Regions from separate parts of the Homo sapiens genome. Here region 2 is linked to region 1. Evidence: promoter capture Hi-C in 16 types of primary human blood cells and fetal thymus (Javierre and others, 2016). All regions are on one chromosome and are shown on one strand. Each heading gives the region's core, a stretch centred on a gene start or on the middle of the fragment in contact. The rest is flanking DNA. Distances are from core to core; before and after follow the strand shown.

Region 1 (3,791 bases), core at 945-3,444:
GTTTGCACTAGGTTTGATGAAGAGAGTCATGCAGAAATATAACAAGACAAAAATAATATGAGCTAAGGATAATAAACAAGGAGAAATCTAGCAAGGTTTATTTGTTCAGATTCCTCGCATACTCTGCAAGACTCCCAGGAGGGTCTTAAGACCTGCTTCAGAGGAAGGTCATACGAACATTCTTGTCTATGTTGTTCTACTAATGTCTTAGAATATTTACTATGTCAAGGCGCCATACTTTGGAGTACTATGTTGTCAGAAACCTGAGGTTGCTCATGGAGTACTATGGAGTAGTGACCTTTTTTTTTTTTTTGGTCCCATTTTAGAAATTTGATTAATGAGTATAAACTAATGGTTTCTATGTTTGAGACGGAGTTTCGTTCTTGTTGTCCAGGCTGGAATGAAATGGCGGGATCTTGGCTCACTGCAACCCCCGCCTCCCGGTTTCAAGCGTTTCTCCTGCCTCAGTCTCCGAAGTAGCTGGGGTAACATAGGCATGCGCCACCACGCCCGGCTAATTTTGTTATTTTTAGTAGATACGGGGTTTCACCATGTGGGTCAGGCTGTTTTTGAACTCCTGACCTCAAGTGATCCACCAGCCTCGCCTCCCAAAATGCTGGGATTACAGGCGAGAGCCACTGCGCCCAGCCAGCCAAAACTGTAATTTTTTTTTTTTTTTTTTTTTTTTTTTTTTTATGAGATGGAATCTAGCTCTTTCGCCCAGGATGGAGTGCAGTGGCGCGATCTCTGATCACTGCAACCTCCGCCTCCCGGGTTCAAGTGACTCTCCAGCCTCAGCTTCCAGAGTAGCTGAAACTACAGGTGAGTGCCACCACGCCCGGCTAATTTTGTTTGTATTTTTTTAGTAGAGACAGGGTTTCACAGTGTTAGCCAGGATGGTCTCGACCTCCTGACCTCGTGATCCGCCCGTCTCGGCCTCCCAAAGTGATGGGATTAGAGGCGTGAGCCACCGCGCACGGCGGAAAACGAGATTTTTTAGATCAACTTTACATTGCCAATGCCCATGGTATTCCCTCCACAACAAACTCCACAAGAGTGCTCAGAAAAGTCAAACTTGTTATCAGGTGATCTTTAGGGACCCAAAGACTACTCTTCCTACCCTTTCCAGTGTTGCCCAGGCTGGAATTGCACTAGCGTATTCACATGTTCCTGCAGTCTCTAGCCCGAGAGTTTAAGCTATCCTACCACCTCAGCCTACCGAGTAAATGATAGTACAGACGCAAGCCGTCACACCTGGTTAGCTTCATTTTTTTGCAGAGACGAGTTCTATGTTGCCCAGGCAAATCTGTTAACTCCTGAGCTGAAGAAAGCCTCATGCATCGACCTCCCAAAGTGCTAGGATTACAGGATCTTGCCAACACAGAACAGGAGTATCTCCTGATCAATTTTTTTTGAGACGAAGCCTCGCCTTTGTCGCCCAGGCTAGAATGCAAAAGCGCCATGTCTTTTCACTGCAACCTTTGCTTGCTGGGTTTAAGTGATTCTCCTGCGGCAGCCTCCCGAGTCTCTGGGATGACACGCGACTGCCCCACGCCCGGCTAATATTTGTATTTTTAGTAGAAACGAGATTTAACCACGTTAGCCAAACTGGTCTCGATCCGCACGCCTCGGCCTCCCAAAGTGCTGGGATTACAAAATCGGAAAAATTATTCCCTAGAAAACGGTGAAATTCAATATTAAAGCTCTTTATGTGAGACTTGAGTGGCTCTGAAAAGAGCCTTTGAGTTTTAAAGCACCTAAGCACACATTTACTTGGAGCTTGTATACTTGGTGACAGCCTTGGTACCTTCGGACACTGCGTGCTTGGCCAGCTCTCCGGGAAGCAGCAGACGCACGGCGGTCTGGATCTCCCTGGAGGTAATGGTCGAGCGCTTGTTGTAGTGGGCCAGACGGGAAGCCTCGCCTGCGATGCGTTCGAAGATGTCGTTAACGAAGGAATTCATGATGCCCATGGCCTTGGATGAGATGCCAGTATCGGGGTGAACCTGTTTTAGCACCTTGTACACATACACGGAGTAGCTCTCCTTACGACTGCGCTTGCGCTTCTTGCCATCCTTCTTCTGCGCCTTGGTCACAGCCTTCTTGGAACCCTTCTTCGGAGCAGGAGCTGACTTAGCTGGTTCAGGCATGCTGTCAGAAAACAATAACAGCAGTGAGAATGAACGCACTTAAATAAAAGCTCGTGTCTAGAGTCTCTCCTTTTATAGGCCTTTCATGCAAATAAAGAATTCAAAATATCCAGCTCTGATTGGGCAATGTGTTAGTGACGCATACATGTAAAATAGCCTTCACCTTATTTCCTTTCTAATTGGTTGGCTCGTCAAAGAACAATTTTAACCAATCAAATTGCGCCTTTCACAATTCTACCGATGACTATAACTAGCTTCTTATTCCTCCATCGAGCCCATTCTTTTTCTTTATTCAGTGGATTGTTAGTTCTTCTGCTGTTAGGAAGCCACTATGTCTGGACGTGGAAAGCAAGGCGGCAAAGCTCGGGCAAAAGCTAAAACGCGTTCTTCCAGGGCCGGTCTTCAGTTTCCAGTTGGCCGTGTGCACCGCCTCCTCCGCAAAGGCAACTACTCCGAACGAGTCGGGGCCGGCGCTCCAGTGTACCTGGCAGCGGTGCTGGAATATCTGACGGCCGAGATCTTAGAGCTAGCTGGCAACGCGGCTCGCGACAATAAGAAGACCCGCATCATCCCGCGCCACCTGCAGCTAGCCATCCGCAACGACGAGGAGCTAAATAAGCTTCTAGGTCGCGTGACCATCGCGCAGGGCGGTGTCCTGCCCAACATCCAGGCCGTATTGCTGCCTAAGAAGACGGAGAGCCACCATAAGGCCAAGGGCAAGTGAAATGATTACTAGTCAAATCCGTCAGTGATCCCGAGTCCCAGAAACCAAAGGCTCTTTTCAGAGCCACCCACCTTTTCTGTAAAGTGCTGGAATACACATACGATGCCTGAAATCTCAATGTTCACTGTCCTAATTTTTAACGAACGCTTCTGACGTTACTGGTCAGTTCTTTATTGAAATCCTTGCTCACATTTCATGCACTAATTTATCTTACTGGTGTTTCTTTGCAGTAAAAATGCGTTTATAAAGGTATACAAGAATAGAAACCGAGGTTGTGACACCAAGGTTTCACTGCGTTATTTTGTGTATAGGTCCATGCTGTGTATACAAATTTATCATTAATACACAGGCTGTTTATTCATGTGCACTTGTCAGAAAAGGGTGAAATATTAATACAGAAACGAGAGAACAAAGAAGGATAGCTGCCCATTAGCATTTCAGGGCGGGCTTTTTAAGTTTTAAAGATGACTGCATTCCGGCTGGGCTCAGTGGCTCATGCCTGTAATCCCAACACTTTGGGAGGCCAAGGAGGGCGGATCATAGGGTCAGGAGTTCGAAATCAGCCTGCCCAACATAATGAAAGCCCGTCTCTACTAAACAAATACAAAAAGTAGCCGGGCGTGGTGGTGTGCATCTGTAGTCCCAGCAACTTGGGAGGCTGAGGCAGGAGAATCGCTTGACTCCGGGAGGCAGAGGCTGCAGTGAGCCGAGATCACGCTATTGCACTCCAGCCTGGGTAACAGAGCAAGACTACGTCTCAAAAAAAAAAAAAAAAAAAAAGACTACATTCCTCTAGTGAGAATTGTGTTTGTTGGATTTCTCTTTTCAAAAGGAGCAATTAACACAGTATTCTAAAATAAACACTAAACGAAACTAAGCAGTAACGGCCTGACGCCCTAGGTCAGACCTGTAATCCC
Region 2 (3,791 bases), core at 830-3,329, 150 kb before region 1:
AGATCATGAGGTCAGGAGTTTAAGACCAGCCTGACCAACATGGTGAAATTCCGTCTCTTCTAAAAATACAAAAATTAGCTCGGCATGGTGGCGTGCATCTGTAATCCCAGCTACTTGGAAGGCTGAGGCAGGAGAATCACTTGAACCCAGGAGGCGGACGTTGCAGTGAGCTGAGATTGCGCCACTGCACTCCAGCCTGGGTGACAGAGCGAGACTCTATTTCAAAAAAAAAAGAATGACCTCCAAGGGAAAGTTCAGATTAAGGATGTGGTCGTCCCACCCAAAACTGATGTCCTCAAGAAAGCCACAAACAAATTGAGGACACAGTTAAAATATTGTAATGCAATATATTGTGTATTCTTTTATTTACACACACATCATAAATATTATAGGTTGACTAGTTTTGTTTCATGCCACACTCTTCAGGGTCTGGAAACCCTGGTAGAAAAGTTAAAAATGCAGAGCAAAATGTCAAGTCCAAACAGCAGTAATGGGGCTAGAGAGAGACTCAAACAGCCAAGATATATTCAAAGGATAGTGAGAGGAGTTGTTAGGACAGGTGTAAGGAATGAGGGTGACAGCTGGTTTTTCTTTCACTTTTTCCTTCTACTATGCCAATTAGAGTTCTTTGTTTTTGATAGAGACAGGGGTCTCACTATGTTGCTCAGGCTGGTCTCAAACTCTTGGCACCAAGTGATCCTCCTGCCTCAGCCTCCCAAAGTTTTGAGATTATAGGTGTGAACCACCAAGCCCAGCCTTAGAGTAGGGTTCTGTCATCTTTTGGATGTAGCTAACCTAATATTACTAAATCCTGTATAGGCCAGAACTTTGAATGATTTAAAGCTGTTTTTTCCTGACTCACCAATTAATGAAGCTAATAATAACAGCCACCCCACTGGCAGTGCCTGCCTCAAAGAGTAAGTGTTAGTGTTGCTATCTGCTTGAGACCAACAATACAGGGACTCCAGGATATTTTCAGCCTAAATAAGATTGTAGGGGCTCTTGTCTGTTGCCTGGCTTCAGCCCCATAAACTTTTTTTTAACATATAACCCAGAGCCACAGTTTTGCTCATATTTCAATCTTTGAAGGCAAATGGCCAACAATTAGATTAAACCTGAGGCTAAATATTTCCTCACCTCAAGGGCTGAGACGAAAGTTACTGCATCTGTATTCCCTAACACGCCCTCAAAATGGGTTGCAGAAAACAACAGAAAATATACTAAAGCACACAGTAGGAGCATAATAAATAGTGATTAGCTGGGTGCAGTGGCATGCGCCTGTAGTTCCCGCTACTCTACTCATGAGGCTGAGGCAGGAGGATCACTTTTGCCAAGCAGTTTGAAGTTGCAGAGAGCTATGATCACAACACTTCACTCTAACCTGGGCAACAGAGCAAGACTCTGTCCAGAAAAATAAATACATAAATATAAAATTTAAAAATATAAATAAATACATAGAGAGTATTACAAAAGGAACAATATATTGCAAAATATATTTACCTAACATTTTGAAATTGCCATTATAATTGTATAAGTGACATAGGAAACTGGGTCATTAACAGCTATCTTATTCTTCAAGCTTCTTTCAAATGATGTCAAAGCATTTCAGAAAGTCAAACCTACCCTCAAAGGATAAGAATTTGTCAATTGTGAGGATATGCACATTTTTACACCTTCTCAATCTGTGTCTATATGAAGGCAGTTATAAAGCACAAGATGCAAACGTATATTAGGCAATAGTCTTCATCAGAATAAGTACATAACCTGACACAATGACTATATTGGAAGAAACATGGAAATGCAAATTTCAATAGATTGGTTGACATTATTTTTTAATGTCTAGTTTTTTACTGTGCTGTGTTTTTACACACTTAATGAGCACTTGTTAAGCACAGGACACCAGGAGAAATAATAAAAACTAAGATCAGCCTAGCAGTGTGTCCTCTCAAGAACTTATACCTGGTGGGACAGATACAGACAAATATAACCATCATACAGTGTGAGAAATCGATAGAAAAGACACAGCCACTGAGAGCACAAAAGAATAAAAACATAAAATGTTAATGTGCTGGCTAAACGTTTGCCTTCAAGTATTTACCAGTCTAGCTGGGAAAATAAGACAGAAGACAACAGCCTAAAATAGTGGTTCTTAAACATTTAGATATCAGGACTTCTTTACACTCCTAAAAACTATCAGGCCTCCAAAAAATATTTTGCTAAATATAGGCATTTATCACTTTGGAAAACAAAGCTGAGTATTAATTATTTAATTATTTATATTAATATTTATTTGATAACCTTTAAAATATTATAAAATTAATATTTATTTATAATGCATATATGTGATTATATAGTTCATATGTAGCCATATATTTATCATATATACCATAGATTTATGTTATATATTACATATGTATGAAGAAAAAATGGAAAGTAAACCCAAAAGTTCCCCATTCCCTAACCCATTCAAAACCCTGGAAGTCCCAGGCTAATCTGAAACTTGTAAAACTGCCTGCATGTAGAGAGCACAGCTGAGCTGGTAGTGTGGAAGAGCAGAAAGACAGCAGTTCTGGAGCAAGGAAGCTTTATATTTAATCCCAGTTTCTCCATTCATGAGCTTGGTTACCCTGCCAAGTTCCTTCTCTGTAAAATGGGAATAATACTCCCAGAAATACAGTGAGGATTAAATTAGATAATGTGCATACAGTTCCTGGGATTGGGATCAGCACACAGTAGCCTCTCATTTGAGGCATATTTGCATTAGATCCTTGCTGTATGATATCCTTCTGTTTCTTTCTTTTTTTTTTTTTTCCTTTGGTGACCCTAAGAAAGATGGTACTCTCCTTAACTTGGAGGGCTGGATGCGAAGAGACCAAATCCAACAAGCTGGTTCATTCTTTCTAATTATGTGTGCTTCCCTTAGCTGCCTCTGAAAGGATACAGGCCCTAGGTACTAGCCCCAAGAAGCCTAATGATAAGAGATAGAGCTGGACCACCAGAGAAGAGATGAGTGTGTATGTGTGTGTGTGCAAGCAATTATATGTGTGCATTTAGGAGTGGTAGGTGTGTAAACAGTCTAGAACACTCATTCTCACTGTGATGTGAGGATGTATCCCCACATCACTGTTCTGGGAGCTCACTCCTTGTCCATCATCCAAGCTTATGATGGACAATTCTTTCCCAAGTGGGAAAGAATTCTGATGACACTCACATAACTACCCAGTCCCAACTTTCTGTATCCAAGGTGTGTGCATACCTTTGATAGCAGGCAGGTGTGCCTAGCCAATATATTAGGAGCATGGTATTCCAGCACTCTGCACTTTTTTACTATAGAATTCATCTCAACCTGCTTACATTACATGAAAGTTTTGATTGATATCAAATTTTTATTATGTTTGCTTATCAAAGGATTTGTAATTATGCTTCAGTTGATACATAGATTGTTTATATTTTTCATGGTTACTTGAAGCACTTATATTTTCCTCATACTTTTACAAAGTAATCAAGGAAAAATACAGAGGCAGCTTAGTATATTAGTCAAAAGAATAATTAGACTGTCTTGGAACCTGGAATGTCTGAGTTCAAATTCAATTTTGCCGTTTTACCAGCTGTGTGACTTTGGGTGAGTTAATAAACCTTTTCGTGTCTCAGTGTTCTCACATGTAAAGAGACAATAATAAGCCTACCTGTTTCATGGGTCATTATGAGGATTAAGGAGTTAACATTTAAATAGTTCTTAGAACAACCTCTGACATATTTTAAGTACAAAAATATATACATATATTAAATAA

The links. Contacts are between HindIII fragments. The CHiCAGO score rates a contact against its expected background, and 5 or more counts as called.
Region 2: a fragment that was not itself captured here is called in contact with the fragment with the promoter of H2BC8 in region 1 in 1 of 17 cell types (monocytes); the score reaches 5.4 in monocytes.

The regions. Positions count from the first base shown.
Region 1 is chr6:26,214,494-26,218,284 of GRCh38, forward strand. H2BC8 (H2B clustered histone 8) reads right to left here and starts at 2,195. Exons shown (of 1, transcript NM_003518.4): 1 at 1,707-2,195. The coding sequence starts at 2,150. The coding sequence ends at 1,770. It overlaps H2AC8 (H2A clustered histone 8), which reads left to right and starts at 2,428. Exons shown (of 1, transcript NM_021052.4): 1 at 2,428-2,944. The coding sequence starts at 2,482. The coding sequence ends at 2,874. RefSeq lists enhancers at 1,309-1,438, 1,489-1,578, 1,659-2,008, 1,920-2,571, 2,439-2,858 and 2 more. The HindIII fragment of the contact is 5,797 bases long and covers 1-2,767 here.
Region 2 is chr6:26,060,389-26,064,179 of GRCh38, forward strand. No RefSeq gene overlaps it. Among named protein-coding and RNA genes, the nearest start is that of H1-2, 5.8 kb to the left of the region's middle. The HindIII fragment of the contact is 1,004 bases long and covers 1,578-2,581 here.